4 separate regions of the Homo sapiens genome follow, and regions 2, 3 and 4 are each linked to region 1. Evidence: promoter capture Hi-C in 16 types of primary human blood cells and fetal thymus (Javierre and others, 2016). All regions are on one chromosome and are shown on one strand. The core of a region is centred on a gene start or on the middle of the fragment in contact, and the rest is flanking DNA. Distances in the headings are between cores, read along the strand shown. Region 1 holds the start of KRT74 (keratin 74). Region 2 overlaps KRT79 (keratin 79). Region 3 has its middle 3.8 kb from the start of KRT3. Region 4 has its middle 4.4 kb from the start of KRT76.

What was found. The method cuts DNA at HindIII sites, captures the fragments that hold promoters and counts their contacts. A CHiCAGO score of 5 or more calls a contact.
Region 2: a fragment that was not itself captured here is called in contact with the fragment with the promoter of KRT74 in region 1 in 2 of 17 cell types (erythroblasts and activated CD4 T cells); the score reaches 7.2 in erythroblasts.
Region 3: a fragment that was not itself captured here is called in contact with the fragment with the promoter of KRT74 in region 1 in 3 of 17 cell types (naive CD4 T cells, naive CD8 T cells and total CD8 T cells); the score reaches 6.7 in naive CD4 T cells.
Region 4: a contact is called between a fragment that was not itself captured here and the fragment with the promoter of KRT74 in region 1, in 1 of 17 cell types (non-activated CD4 T cells). The highest score is 5.0, in non-activated CD4 T cells.

The regions. Positions count from the first base shown.
Region 1 is chr12:52,571,925-52,575,890 of GRCh38, forward strand. It overlaps KRT74 (keratin 74), which reads right to left and starts at 1,919. Exons shown (of 9, transcript NM_175053.4): 1 at 1,383-1,919; 2 at 529-743; 3 at 20-80. The coding sequence starts at 1,853. RefSeq lists an enhancer at 344-513. The HindIII fragment of the contact is 6,698 bases long and covers 1-3,966 here.
Region 2 is chr12:52,817,522-52,821,487 of GRCh38, forward strand. KRT79 (keratin 79) reads right to left here. Exons shown (of 9, transcript NM_175834.3): 9 at 3,887-3,966. Among named protein-coding and RNA genes, the nearest start is that of KRT4, 5.4 kb to the left of the region's middle. RefSeq lists an enhancer at 698-1,199. The HindIII fragment of the contact is 1,770 bases long and covers 973-2,742 here.
Region 3 is chr12:52,797,943-52,801,908 of GRCh38, forward strand. No RefSeq gene overlaps it. Among named protein-coding and RNA genes, the nearest start is that of KRT3, 3.8 kb to the left of the region's middle. The HindIII fragment of the contact is 5,805 bases long and covers 1-3,966 here.
Region 4 is chr12:52,779,758-52,783,723 of GRCh38, forward strand. No RefSeq gene overlaps it. Among named protein-coding and RNA genes, the nearest start is that of KRT76, 4.4 kb to the left of the region's middle. The HindIII fragment of the contact is 1,580 bases long and covers 1,141-2,720 here.

The DNA.
Region 1 (3,966 bases), core at 669-3,168:
AGGCTCCTCCCTCTCTTACCTTCTTAAGCACCACAAACTCATTCTCTGCTGTCGTGCGCCGGTTAATCTCCACTTCATATCTGCCAGCAGGGAGAGTAGATGGCCTTAGCCCCCTTAGCCAAGGAACTTTCTCTTCCTGCTGGCCAGGCAAATGTTTGGGATACAGGGTCCCTGCAGGGTCTCTGGGGTGAGCAGTAAGAGGCTAGTGACAGGAGTAAGATATCCCTGAGTTGCTTCACTTGTCTCCTAGTTTTTGCATGTTAGGAAAACACCCAGGTGCCTATTGGGCTCCCGACACCAGCAACTGAACATTTCAGTGGGTCAAGGAGCACAGGAACCGCTTCCTATCAACTAGGCAGGAAGTTATCATCAAAGAGGATAGGCCCTTCCCCCTAGCCAGAGAAAGGGATGTGAGCTCCTGACCCTGGTGCATACTCCCCCATCTCCTAAAAAATAATGGCACAGAGATCAGGTGAGCCCAGAGGCACGGGAAACATGGTCTGTGACCCTCGGGTGGAGCCTGCTCACCTCTTCTTATAGTCCTCCACCAGATCCCTCATGCTTCTCAGCTCCGAGTCCAGCCTCACCCTGTCCCCAGACAGTGTCTCCAGCTGCTTCCGCAGGTTGCTGATGTAGCCCTCAAGGATGGGCTCCAGGTTCTTCTTGCAGTTGTTCAGGTCCAGCTGCTGCAGCAGCTCCCACTTGGTTTCTAGAACCTGGTTCTGCTGCTCTAGGAAGCGTACCTGGAACCCAAATCAACAGACACCTGGAACCACAATGGGTGCAGTCATGCCCCCTGGACACACACCATTGACTCCCCAGGTTTGCCATAGATTGTTGTAGTCATTTTTGCTCATGTCTTGACTCTCCACCCTTGCCATTCCACACAAACTAGATCCTTTACAAGTGCTCATTTCCTAGCCTTCTGGACAAGGCATCACTGAGAACTCACTCAAGGAGTTTCCACAGCTTTCTTCTATTGCTCGGCCCTGGTCCCAGGAGATGTCCTTCCTTATGTCTCAACTAAGTGTCTCTTCCTGTACCATGAGCCCTTCCCTCTGAACACTGCTGGATTCTATTAGCCTTTCATGTTCTTGGAAGATCCAGCTGTCCTCAAGAAACTCATCACTTTTTTGTCAAGGAAGGGCTGCTCTTTACCCAGCTTCCCATCCTTCCCTGCAAAATCGCCAAAGAAGCCGATATATTCATGTATTCCTTTGTCCTCCGTGGCTCACAGACCTACTCTCCTTCCCTAATGGTGAGGAAGCCCTTCCTGAGGCCCAGCTGCACCTTTCCAGCCACAGTGTGCAGTCCATTCCCAGGCAGCAGGAAAACTGCTCAGGCCTCAGGGTGCGGCCTCATCCTCCTCCTATGAGACCCACCTTGTCAATGAAGGAGGCGAACTTGTCGTTCAGCACCTTGATCTGTTCCCGCTCCTGGGCGCGCACCTTCTGGATCTCAGGGTCCAGCTCCACGTTGAGGGGGGCCAAGAGGCTCTTGTTGACAGTGACCTGGTGGATGCCCCCAGGTGGGCACACAGACAAACATGCAGGCCCCAGGGCCACACTGCCAAACATACTGCCAGCAAAGCCACTGGCCCGGCCCCCTCCATACCCAGAGCCAGGCCTGAAGCCGTAACCTCCAGCCCGAACGCCGCCACCAGCCACATTGAAAGAAATACGCCGATTCCCTCCAAGGCTATAGAGGCTCCGACTGCCAAAGCCAGCGCCAGCCCCTCTGCCAGCTGCACAGTAAGAAGCCAGGCTACCCACAGCCTTCCTTGGCACCACTGCCGAATGCACACTGAAGTTGCCCTTGTCACCACTGGACTTGATGTTCAGTTGCCGACTCATGGTGGGAAAGGTTGAGTTGACAGAGCTGGAGAAAAGCAGTCTCCAAGGGGTAGAGAACACACTGATGGGGCACCCAGAGTGCTGCCTCCTTTTATCCCTGTTGAGCCCAGGACACCGGAAAAGGGCGTCTCTCCACTATCTCCTTTCCCCTGCTGATGGGCCAGGGGCCATGGGCAATTTGTAGAACAGAGATCTCCAAGCCCTTTGCAGCAACAAAGCTCTTCTGATAGCAAGTGGAATATGCTGCCCTTGCAGAGTGGAGTGGTCTAATTTGGAGTTTATCTGTGCTCCCTAATTAAGGACCTGAAGAGTTATCCCCTGAAGAGATCTCCTAGCTTTATTTTTCCAGTGCTACCTCCTTCTTGCTTAACCATCAGCAAGGAGCAGGGGAAATGCCTGGCTTTCCCCAGAGTAGACTCACCTGAAAAACCCCAGGTTTCTTCCCAAAAGAAACCATCTCTCTATTATAGGGTCTTGTGTGGAAGCTGGAATTTTTACCTCAGGGAAAAGAAGACATGGAAAGATGATTCTTCTTGGAAAGATGTCCTCAAAGATCTGGATCTGGGTAAGAAGCTCCAGGGTCCGTCCTTGGGCCATGCTAAGGACCACAGCTGTCTAGCAGTGAAGTGGACCCCAGGAAGGAAGAGGAATGACTCTGCAGCATCTGCATGCCCCCCTAGCAGGGATATTGTCTAGGGCCTTCTGTGTTGGGCAGGGCCTGGGTGGTGGTGACCTTGACATTGCCTTACAACCATGAGAACCTTTCCAGTCAGCTGCATTTCCTCCAGTTGGATTTTCTCTCCTGGATAAGATTATTTGTCCTACTCTAGGAAGTCAGGCAGGAGCTGGGATATTAGCCCCTGCACTCCCTGGGGAAACACCCTATGGCTGAAGTCACCAAGGAACAGGACCCCCTGAGTTTCACTCCCAGGTTCAGGGTGGGCTGTTCTGCCAGTTTCCTGGCAACTTCAGGGAGCACTCAATTTTCAAACAGGAAGTATCACTGCTTTATAGCTCAGGTAGTGTGGGTACAGTGCAATGTTAAAAAATTATTTCAGGGCTGGGCATGGTGGCTCACACCTGTAATCCCAGCACTTTGGGAGGCCAAGGAGGGCAGATTGCCTGAGGTCAGGAGTTTGAGTCCAGCCTGGCTAACATGGTGAAACCCCGCCTCTACTAAAAATACAAAAATCAGCCGAGCGCAGTGGTGCATGCCTGTAGTCGCAGCTACTCAAAAGACTGAAGTAGAAGAATCACTTGAACCTGGGAGGCAGAGGTTGCAGTGAGCCTAGATTGTGCCACTGCACTCCAGCCTGGGCAACAGAGCAAGACTCTGTCTCCAAAAAACAAAAAAAATTATTTCAAAGCTAGGTATCTGGCAGCTGCCCTCATGCAAGACTCTGACCACTTCCTATAACTAAACTGAGAACACTTGGCTTGTTTGGATCCAGCCGAGGGCAGAAGACAACTGCTCCCACTGCTGGGGAGGGAAAAGGAGAAGCTGACCTGGGCAGGGAGCGTGGAGCTTAGGCCTGGAAGCTGCCCCGGAAGAATTTCCCCTTCACAGGGTGTTTTCCTCTCAGCCCCTGAGGTAACGGTGGAAGGTCCTTCCCCAGGGACCCTGTCTCGGGGGGCTTTCCCGGCAGGGCCTAGCCCTACAGCACAGGAGCATGTAATCGAAGGGGTTGCTTGTGGTTTTCTAAGTCAGGTTGCAAGGGCAGCAGCAGGGGTGCCGCCAGATGCTGGGTTTGCCGCCCTCCTGTGCTGGAGTGTGCAAGACAAAAAATGGCGTGAGTTCCTTAACCTGGGGGTGACTGTCCTAGGGCCCCAGCCACCAAGAAGCCTGCAGACCAATGAGAGGAATCTACACAAAGAACTTAAAGTAGAGCCAAAGCTCTGGAATGACAGAAAAGCATTATGAACCACGAATCAGAGGTGCACTGAGGAATGGCTCATCTTGATTAGGGTTTTTGGGGATCTCCAGAAGCCAGGCTTATATTCCCAACAACGCCCACTACAGGTGCTGGCTCAGAGTAGTGGCTCAGAGGTAGTGGGGCTGGAAGTATTCCTTATGGCAGTAGTAGCAATAGTGGTAGTAACATCATTGTATAAT
Region 2 (3,966 bases), core at 608-3,107, 250 kb after region 1:
AACAATATAGAATATGTAATCAGTCTTATTTTGTGCCTGTGGGGCACCCAAACCATGGAGCTACGATTGAGGTACTTCTCATGAAGGTGACTTGAGGTGTGCCATCGCTGATACAAGAAGGAAGATGAAGGAAAGGCAGCGGTGCCTCTTGGGTAGAAGGGATTCTCTCTTGGAACTACTGTTATATGCTGAACACTAGGTGCTTCTTCCAACAACCCAGTCAAAGAGGTGCTTTGCTATGTCCAGTTTGGAGCTGCAGATATTGAGGCTCAGAGGGGTATGTAACTTGCCTGAGATCACACAGCCAGGAAGTGGTAGAGATAGGAAGTCAGTACTATCTGTCTGACTTCAAAGCTTGTGACCTTACAATGTATAAAACGGTAGGTATAATGTTTTATATGAGTGACTGGCCCACACAGAATATGCAGGGAAAAAAATACACAGCAACTTATACAGCCCTGTACCTCATGGTCCACCAAGACAGCCATGGGGTCTGGCCAGCAGGCTGCAAGCTCTGCAGATGCAGCTCCGCTCCTTTTTGTCCTTACCCTCAGCACATGGTCAGTTGCTTGGTTGATGTGGCCCTGTCCTTACAAGTACCCAATAAGGTATGACACTGTCCTGAGGGGCCAGTTTTGTATCCTCCAATTAACTAAATCCAAATTAATTTCATGACAAACCCTACCATAAACCCAATCCAAACAAGAAGAAAGTTCTAGTCTAGAGCCACATTCTGTGTCCTTATTATTAAATCAGAATTGCAAGAAGCTCACAAAATCTTCAAACTGAGCCTGAGAAACCGAAGGTAGACCTAAGGAAGAACTTCCTATGCAAGAGCGCCTTTACACCCTAGAGTGAGAGAGAAAGAGAGATGAGTTTCTTTCCCTGAAAACGGGGAAAGACATTGCCTTCATATGTGGGCCAGAGGCAGGTGGCTGAACAAGGCGCCACTACCCAGCAGCCACAGCTGGAAGCTTGTCCCCTGCCCCTCCCCAGACCTCCACACGCAGATTCTGCTACTGCCCTCGGTGACCCTTCCTTGTTTGGCAGCTGTTCCCAATCTTTTCACAGAGGGATGAGCAGCCGACAGGGGTGTGGAGCCAGGCGGAGGGAGTGTTTGCTCAGGGCTTTCTGGGTAAGGGAGGCAAGCCCTTACATTCAGCCCTGGGATTAAGGGATCCTGAGGGCTTCTGTCACTCTCATCTCCAAACCCACTGTGTGGTGTGGGAAAGTGCTCCTGCCCTCCCTGGCCAGGCGGGCACCCTCACTCCATTCGGTCACCCAACCTCAACTGCCCCACCGGGCCTGAGTCATTCTTGGGGAACCAGAGACAACACGGGGATCAGAGATTCTGCAGAAAAGGGCCATCAGCGTTTTAGGGAGAGGCCAGTGAGGGCAATGAGAGGACGGGCACTCCTGAGAGCCAGGTATGGGGGTCTGTACCCAGGGGCTCCTCTTTCCCCGGGCCGGAGAGCTGCCCCTGCTGGCCTCCTACCCCAGGCATATACAGGCAGGGGCTTCCCAGCATGTTCTGGCAGCAAAAGCACCCTCATAAACAAAATCACGTGCACAGCCTCATGAGTAAAACAGATAAGGAGAGATGATCCAGTTGGTGCAGAGGAGGGACCATGATCCTTCTCACCTGCTGACCTCCCCCTGCACCCCTGAAAGCAGCCCTTAGGGTCCTCAGTTTGGAAACCCCTGGGTCTGGGCCATTCCCCTCCTTCGACAAGTATGTCTAAGCAGCGCATTATTGTTGGTGGGCCCCCCTGGGCTGCAGTATAATCTCTGAGGCTTTTTTCCATGACAATCAAAAGTTTCTATTGTTCAGTTTTTGAGCCCTAAATATAATTTTTTTGAGACAGGGTCTCCCTCTGTCACCCAGGCTGGAGTGCAATGGTGCAATCACAGCTCACCGCAGCCTCAACAGCCTCAAGTGATCCTCCCACCTCAGCCTCCCAAGTAGCTGGGACTACAGGTATGCATTATCAAACCCAGCTAATTTTTGTATTTTTTTGTAGAGGCAGAGTCTCACCATGTTGCCAGGCTTGTCTTGAACTCCTGGGCTCAAGTGATCCACCTGCCTCAGCCTCCCAAAGTGCTGGAATTACAGGCAGGAGCCACAACACCTGGCCTATGATCTCACTAAAACTGATTTTTTTTTTAACACTGCCACTAAGTTACCGTGGCTTTGGATACATTCTTCCCCTTCCTCAACCTGTTTTCTTATCTATGAAATAAAAAGTTTGGAGTCGATTACATCCAATGCCCCTTCTAGCTCCAGCATCCCCAGGTCTCCATTCCTTTTTCTATATAAGCAAAATAACCTGGTGCTTAAGAGCTTGGGCTATGGAACCAGATTGCTTGGATTCCACACCTAGCTCTGCTACTTCCTAGCTGTGTGACCTTAGGCAAGTTACTTAACCACTCTGTGCCTTATTTTCCTTATAGGCAAAATTAGAATGATAATAGTATTTATATTATAGGCTGTTGTGAAGAGAATCAGTTAAAGGCTTGACAGCAGTTCTGGCACACAGTTGGCACTCAGTGAGCATTAGCAAGTATTCCTCAAAGTGTTGTACATGGGGTGGACTATACTCCATCTGTCTGAGAAGGGAAGCTAGAGACCACCCAAGCTGGTGAGGCAGAGCTGACCCTAAACCGCTAGGCCTTTGTGTTCCTAAGCTGGAGGTTAGGGTTTGGCTGAAAATCCCTCTGCTGGCCTTCCACAGCCCTGGAGGAAGCTTTCTCAGGGCTCTTCGGGGCTCCTCTGAGGAGGACAGAGTGATCAGGCCGGAAGAGTGTGGGATGCATCCCAGCAACTGCCAGGAGCCCTAAGGTTGCCAAGGAAGGGAGCGGAGTGGTGACAGCCTCGGGTCGGGCCAACTGGTTTGGTAGCAGGGTGGGGAGGGCCTGAGAGGTGCAGGGTTGAGAGGCCAGCCAATTGGGGAATCACTTGGGTACAGCTTGAGGAGTGGGGTCCAGACTCAAAGTAGAGAACTGTGGAGATGAAGAGGAAAGAAGGTGATACCAAGAGACGCATGGAGGGAGGAGCAGTAAGATTTGGCGAGTGATGGAGGCAGGAGTAGGACGGAGGTAGCTTCTGGGGTGACAGGACAGAGGGCTTGAAATTGCAGCCCTGGACACTACTGACCCACCTCCAGCCAGCTGGATGACTACAGCATGAGAGGTCACTTCTGTGAGCGTGAATCGCCTCACCTGTAAACTGGAACACCACATGCCCACTACTGAACCTAGGGCTGTGGTGATGGTCACAGGCAAAGTAATGTATGTGTAAACCACAAAACCCAATTAAGTGTGGATTTTTCTTGCCGACTGGATGTGGGGGCTGAGAGAGACATCACTGAGGCCAAGAGGATAAGCTGGGAATCCAGAAGTCAGGGAGTGGGAAAGCAAAGAAACCTGATTCCTGAAAGGGCCTCTATAAGCCAGATGCTTTACACATGTTCTTATCACAACCCACTTTTACAAAGGAGGAAACTAAGGCTCAGAGAGGTTAGGTAACTTGACCGAGGTCATACAGCTAGTAAGTGGCAGAACTTGGATTTAAACCCAAGTTGCCTAGTTCTGAAGCCTAAGACCTCTCCACTGAACAAAGCATGCTGTCTGCCCCTACAGAGTTAGTGGGAGGCTGAACAGGCACCAGGGGTGGCTGGTTAATAGGCAGCCACTTAGCCAGGTCTGGCCTTGAGCAGCTTACATATTCCCTCTGAGCCTTGGTCTCCTCTTGTGAGCCATGTACAGCCCTGGAGTGGCGATGGTATCAAACTAATGTACCTAAGTAAGCATGGCGATTGGGATGTGGTGAGTGTGTGATTATTGCTGTGTCAGGCATCAGGATGTTAATCAATGGACACAATTTCAGTTCCCCAGGCAGGACAGACTGCAGCCACAGACAGCTAGCTGCAGTTGCACCATTTATTGAGACACAGACAGGGAAGGGGG
Region 3 (3,966 bases), core at 434-2,933, 230 kb after region 1:
GAATCAATCAATTACAGAATCAAGTTGAAGTTGACTGGACATTTGAGGTCACACAATCTGCCCCGTTCATTGCTGGGATCCCCTCTCCAGCATCTCTGACTTATATCCCTAATTTTCTGCAAGTTCTGCCCATGGACTGTGAAGTTAGCCCAGGCCTAGAGTGTGGCCACACAGGCTCCTCTCCTCTTTGCTCCCTCAAAGGCAATGAACCAAACCCAGGGCTAGACCAGATCCTCCCCATGACTAAGCATGACCAAAGCTATTTAAATTCTCTGCATTTCAGCATCATTAACCATAAAAGATGATCAATCATCTCTGACCCTCTAGATCTCACAGGAACATAGCTAGATGAATGAAATATCTGCCAGTGTTTTAAGAAACATATCACAAGGCCAAATGTGGTGGCTCACGCCTGTAACCCCAATACTTTGCAAGGCTGAGGTGGGCAGATTGCTTGAGCCCAGGAGTTTCAGACCAGCCTTGGAAACATGGCAAAACACCATCTCTATGAAAAAAATACAAAGATTAGCCGGGTGTGGTGTCATGTGCCTGTAGACCCAGGTGCTTGGGAGGCTAAGGTCGGAGGATCACTTGATCCTGGGAGGTCAAGGCTGCACTGAGCTATGATTGCACCATGGCACTCCAGCCTGGACAACAGAACAAGACCCTTCTCAACAAAAGAAAAAGAAAAAAGGAAACATATCACAAAAATTAGACCATATTTTTCCTTATAATATCTAAGAGAGCAGGATGGAGGACCTGCCTTTATGCCAGACAGAAATGAGGCTGCTGCTTGGTCTGGTGTGGGGTCTAGAGTCCAGGGCAATGAGTCTCTAGGAATTCCTAAACCCATAGTGATTCAGGGTACTTAGTGCCCCAATGGGGGGAGATCTTAGTCATTGCCAGAGCCCACTGATTCTGAGCCATGCTTGTCATTCCTTTAGAGGGAATTATCTTGGAGAAGAATCTTTGAGAAGCAACATCACAACCACTGCTGTCATCAGCTAGTCCTGGGTCGGGGACCTCCCCAGCAGATGGTGGAAGAAAAAGGAAGAAGGGCATAATCTATACTTACTCTTGGGGTTGGGATAGCAGAGAAGACATGGCTTGACCTTTGAGAGGACAGGGAGCAAAACAAAGATTGGGGAATACATTCGTGGGACTAGATTGTCAATTCTGATCAGAGCTGTGAGTGAAGGAAGTGGTGGAAGGGGAGGAGATAATCAGTGAGTTGAAATTCTTATTGGTTGGGCCCATCCCTCTAAACTTGTAGGGCCTAATAAACACTTTGAGAAAACAGAGTTGGTTTACAGTCATCCCCAACACTTGAATTATCTGAAGTTTATTAACTAAGCGCCCTAAGTGTTTACTCCCTGGAGAAAAGAGTGAGTCACTGGATTGCAATGTGTAAAATCGAGACTCATAGGGTGCTACGGCCAGGAGGCTCTCCAGTCCACTCCTCTACCTCGAGGCAGAATTCACCTGGCCACTCCTACTCTTCAGGATCCCCATGGAAGGCGATTCATCAAATCTCCTAACTTGCCCAGGCCAGCAAGACCCCACCCTGACCCAAGGAAGGTCTTCAAGGATCTAGCTTTCGTGCCTTCCACTCCATTTCATGGGAGCCTAACTCCTCTTAAAGGATCAGTGAAGTTGTGGTCAGCAGCAGGAGGCCCAGTCACCTGTCCGTCATGGCATGGCACCCATACCTCTCTGCTTGTGAAGGCCCCTTTTAACACACAAAAAATTACATTGACCTTCACACATGTCAGAACTCATACTTCCAGTATCCTTTGAGAATATACATTTTTTACTATGAATTTAGCAACACTTTTAAATAAAAGTGCAGTTCATAGTCATATACATTTGAAAGTGGTAATACATATACATAAAAAGACACATTATTCACTCAGTCGAGAGACACTTGCATCCATGTGCATTCTCAGAATCCTTGCAGTCCTGACACAACAGCAACCCTAACTGGGGCCTCTCAGCCTCAGGTCTCAAGGTCCTGCCCCTTCCACGGCTGGACACCTGCCCCCAGCTGAGATTCCCCACTGAGCACTGTTACCACCTGTCTTCCCTGCCTTTGTGTCCATCAGCCTGTGGCCCTGGCAGGCCTTCAGCAGATGGGAACTGAGTTGCGATGAATTTGCTCTTGCCTGGCCTTCCATAGTAAAACACACACACTCCCCTGGTTTCTGTATCACAACCCTTCCAATATTAGAAAATACTGTGGAATTCACAGACACCAACCTCCCAGTTAGATAGACCCAGTTGTTTCTCCCAGTCCTCAGTACAGATGGTTTCCGGGAATCTTCTCTGCACCCACTTTAATATGTTAATGGACCTCTTAAAACTACAGTGCCTTGCTAAGATAGGATACTTAAGGTGGCTTCATGTGCACCAGAACTAATAAGAAGCCCCTTCCTGTCTGTGATGGGGGCACTGTGCTTCTTTCAATGCAAGCTAAGATTCTGTTCCCTTCTTTAGCTCTTGACTTCCATCAATCCTGCCTGGGGAGGAGGAATGGTAAGGCATGGGTTTGTTGGTGGTGGGGGCAGGGGGTTGTTTTTGTTTTTTTGTTTTTGTTTTGAGAGAGAGAGAGAGAGCCCCTCACTCTGTTGCTGAGGCTGGAGTGCAGTGGTGCAATCTCAGCTCACTGCAACCTCAACCTCCCAGGCTCAAGCCATCCTCCCACCTCAGCCTCCCAAGTAGCTGGGACACTGGCATGCACCACCATGCCCAGCTAACACTTTTTTTATTTTTTTTGTAGAGACAGAGTCTCTCTATGTAACCCAGGTTGGTCTTGAACTCCTAGGCTCAAGCAATCCGCCCACTTCAGCCTCCCAAAGTGCTGGGATTATAAACATGGGCCACCATGCCAGCCAGCTTCCTAGTTTTAAATAACTCACTTCCTTGTCCTGCTGTAAGAATAAACTGAAGGGACAGCATTCACAAAGCACTTACAGAGAAAATAAACATAACAGTAAAAATGAAAAAAAAAAAAGGTTTGCCCTGAATAAGCCTCTATTTACATAAGATTCCTCTGCATGGATAAGAGCTGTCCATTTATATTTGTGCTGAATCATGTCTGGCTGGCATGCCTGCTCAAACCAGAGGCTTGTACACAGCAGAAATCACAACCTTGTCCTCGCTGGAGAATTCCCAAGAGATCTTAGGAAGTTATTAAACAGTTGTCTTCAAACAAAAGATAGGCCGGGCGTGGTGGCTCAGGCCTGTAATCCCAGGACTTTGGGAGGCCGAGGCGGGCGGATCACGAGGTCAGGAGACTGAGACCATTCTGGCTAACACGATGAAACCCCATCTCCACTAAAAATACAAAAAATTAGCCAGGAGTGGTGGCGGGCACCTGTAGTCCCAGCTACTCCAGAGGCTGAGGCAGGAGAATGGCTGAATCCAGGAGGCAGAGATGGCAGTGAGCCGAGATTGCGCCACTGCACTCCAGTCTGGGTGACAGTGCGAGAGTCTGTCTCCAAAAAAAAAAAAAAAAAGATAGAAGGGGAGGTGAAAAAAGTCATTAAGTGGTCATTTAACCTGGGAAAGGCATTTAAGAGGAAAAATACATTTATTTCTCAATGCAATGATTTGAAAAGCATGGATCTCTCTCCACTGAGGAATTTGAGGGGATCCAGTTAGACATAAAGCAAAGGGTACAATCATGGTGAAAATAAGGGGACCAGGGGACACTGTAAGTAACCCAAGGGGATTTTTAAAATAGCAATTTATAGCCCCTAGCATATGAAAGATGCTCAATAAATATCAAAGGAATGGATGCCAGCGTGTGGGGTGAGAGACAATTCTGCCAAGAGACAAAGGAATGACAGCAAACCTCTTCATTCCTGGAAACATACCCTCATAGGAAACAAGAGTGGGAAAGGAGGCATGGCCATGGCAAGGCTTAGCATTACAGCTGCGTGGCAGGGGAGGGAGGTGCAGAGTGGT
Region 4 (3,966 bases), core at 681-3,180, 210 kb after region 1:
AGGATTGTTTTGAAATTTAAATACATAGTATTCAGCAATATATGTTTGGATTTTTAAATTAACATCATTCATCCACAGATAATCCAGGAAGAGGATTTCATGTTGAGTTCTTCCATGAGACATTTATACTCCACCCATCAATTGAATGACAGCCCCTCCTGGTAAGGTCTTTCCTCATATCCTCTGGATCCTTTAAAAGCAGAAGATCACATGCTCTTCCTGGAAAGAAAGCTGAGCCAGGCTCAGCTGAAGCTCCAGGTGAGAGTCCGAAGCAAACAAGAACAGACATAAATGTCTCTGATTCCCTTCCCTCCCTTGGCTGCAGTACTGAGGTGGTGGGTGGCAGCCTCTGATGTGTGGCTCACCTCTGCCACCCTGGCCTAGGCTGGAGAAGCGTGGTGGAGAAAGGTGATGCACAGATCACAAAAGCGCGGGTTTGGGCTGGGTCGCCTAATCCATGTCGCATGAGCCTGCCAAAGCATCACCTTATTTAGCAGATGGGGATTGTCTTCTCAGCAGTTGAATGGAGCTGCTGGAAATACCCAGAGTTGCTATCCTCACCAACATTGCCCTCATTCACTGTAGGATCTTTCAGAACAGTATCTAAAGGGTCTGCCTACTGCCAGCAATCTGAGTTCCAATCCCTCACTGCCAGAACATTCTGTGTAAAGCTTGCCAGATGGCTGAGCACCCTGGATTTTTATTTCCCCACCTATAAAATTGGGGGCACTAAAACCAAGGAGTTATTCCCTCTAACCAAATTGCTCTCTGGTAGTCAACTGCAGTGAGAAGACTTCAGATTGCCTGTAACATAATTATGAGTGGAGGAATGCATCATGAGACAGTAGTCATTATCCTTGGCCAAAGTGAGCAGTCATCCCTCTCCACCACCATCTGCTGAGGATGAGGGAGCCATGGCTGCTGCCTCTTTCTCCATGGAGGTTCGCAGATCCCATTTTCAAGATAATCACCAATTTGTTCTCAAAAATAAAAAAAGAATAATTAACGTTCTGGGTATGCTGCCCCTGGACTAGGAATTAGCATTCTTTTCTTGTTGAAATAAAAGCTTGTCACTAGTGAAGCAATTTTAACCAATGAACAGTAAAAATAATTACCATATAGAGCAAGATTTATAGTGAAAGCTTGATAAAGAAGCAAACATCTAAGTACAACTAAGTCCTTATGTTACTAAGGTCTTAGCTGTTAGCAACCACAATTTGTTCTGATTCTGGTCTTATCTCTACACTTGATTAAAATACACACCAGCTCACCCCTCATTCTTTATCTGGTACTTGGATCTCTCCCAGGGCTTATGCAGGGCAGAATTCTATCTCCCAAGATGGCCCTGATTAAAAGGTTCTGTGATTACATAAATTTGGGAAATGAAAAATCTATAGCTCTTTCCTGGGATTTTAGTAAAGTTGTTTAGTATATTAAAAGCCCAAAGAAGTCCTATAGAAAATAATGTCTTTGCCTTAATTTAATCACAGCTTCCCAAATTTAACAACAAAATCTTTCTATCTTAACATCTACTAACATGCTGTCAAGTATACTCGGGAAACGCTAGTCCAACTAGCCATCCAGGATGGATGAGAATGTGCAGATAGACCAGTGCAGATAGACCAATCAGAGGATTAGGGCATAAGGAGACATCCTCATTCCTGGAGAAAGAGCACTTGCTCCAAGTGAGCTCCTCATCCCTGGAGAGAAAGCACTTGCTCCAAGTGAGATAGCAGGAAACTGAGAGCAGACTAAGGCCTGGGGTTGAAGATGCAGCAAGAAGGGCACTGGGACGCCGAAAACTGAACAGGTTCTCTAAAGACAAGCTCTCCTGTCAATGAATATTTCTCACCAATAAATGGATTTGGCTGAATATTTCCAAAAACCGTGGATATTTCATGGGCATGCTGGATTTTCTGGAACTCAAATAACTTCATCTCCTCCTCTCTTCCCTTGCAGCTTGAAAGAGTGGAAAATATGGAAGCCTTGGAATTAGACGAGCCTGTGTTCAGATCCCAGCCTTGCCACTTTCCAGTTGCATGGCATCAGGCAAGACATTTTACCCTCTGGACCTCAGTTTCCCATTCAGCAAATGGGAGTTAGCACAGCCTCCTCATAGAGTTGCAGTGGGGACTGTAGGAGGTAAAGTTGGAAAACCCTTACACAAAGCAGGTGCTCAACACTTGGCAGCCCTTGTGATGATGATGTCAATGTAGGAAGCCCTCCTAGAAGGTGTCAGTTTGGAAGCTGAAGAGGAAGGAGGAGTTCTAAGGGGTAGCCCAGTTTAGGGTCAAGGCAACAGTGAAGTCTTTGATTATTTTGCAACAAGTTGCAAAGAATCATACTGTCTGTATTGAGAATTACATAAAAGCCATTTTCCCATGTCTGGCCAAGCCATTTTCCCACTACAGGGCCTCGTCAGTAATGCAATCTATCAATCAGCAAATACTTATTGATCTACTACATACTTTTTAGAGGTGTGGGGACTATGTTTCAGTGAAAACAATTTCCTCTTTCAAATCTTAACTCCTATTGCCCATCTGTGAATAGAATTTTAAAACAGCTAACATTGACTGCCTAACATATACAAGTCACTGACAGGTTGTTTACATGTGTCATTTCTAATTGTCACAAAAACTTTGTAAGGTAGGAATTTTCATTCACATTTTACAGATAAGGGCATGAGGTTAATTAACTTGCCTCAAGTCAATTCACTTGCAAGCTTGGATTTTAATCAGACTGTCCAATCCCAAAGCCTGTCGTAAATTCGTGAATGCTTTTCTTCTGCATAGACTTTCAGCAAGTCAAATTACACCATCCCAAAGTGAAAAGTCCACTTTGACATGTAAAGAACCCACCAATATTCTCTCCACCTGACCACCACATGATAGGTTGGACACCAGCCATGTGCAACCTACCATGCTAGCCAGGGCCACCAAGGCACTGGTCAGGACAGTCTCTCAGGGACAGAACACATGGGTGTGCATGGAATTTATAGATGACAAGAGCCGCTCCATCATCTGCAATGTAAAAGGTCTTCACCCTGTTGGAGAAAGAGCAAGAGGCCAGGAGTTTGCGCTGAGCTTAGCTGCTTGCTGGGTCTTAGATGTTGGAGTTGACCACTTGGCCCACAGGAATGATTAGCCACAATCTTCTCTTTCACTTTTTTTTTTTTTTTTTTTTTTTGAGACGGAGTCTCACTCTGTTGCTCAGGCTGGAGTGCAGTGGCACAATCAAGGCTCACTGCAACCTCTGCCTCCCAGGTTCAGGAGATTCTCCTGCCTCAGCCTCCCGAGTAGCTGGGATTACAGGCGCCTGCCACCACACCCAGCTAATTTTTGAATGTTTAGTAGAGACGGGGTTTCACCATGTTGGTCAGGCTGGTCTTGAACTCCTGACCTCAGGTGCTCCACTCGCTTCGGCCTCCCAAAGTACTGGGATTACAGGCATGAGCCACCGTATTTTGTTTTTGCTCACCAAACAGGTAATCAAGATGCACCTTTAAATAATACATTTGTGTTGCATGTTAAAAAAAAAAAAAAAAAAAAAAAAACCCCAACCTTAGAAGGTAATGGTCAGATCTGCCTTGAAGCATCAACTTGTGTTGATGAAAATAGTTTTAAACTTTGTGAATTCCATTGTGGCATCAAGGAGGAACACCCATCATTATCAAGGTATTCTCCCAATCAATCTCAATGGCTTCTCTGTCTGGAGATCAGAACTCCCCAGAGTTAAACGTGGGCCTGCTCACCATCACAGAGCCTTAGCTGTAGAAATCTCGTCTGCTAATGTAGGAACTTCAGGTTTGGTTTCTGGCTCAAAACTATGGAAAGTCGTTAGTCCACATACAAGGGAGGACATCCTAGAATCCAAGAAGACACCAGCCGGCCCCATTCAGCAGCATAGCACAGTAGTTGCATGTGTACACTTTGGATTTGAGGCCAGATCTGCCACTTCCCATCAGTC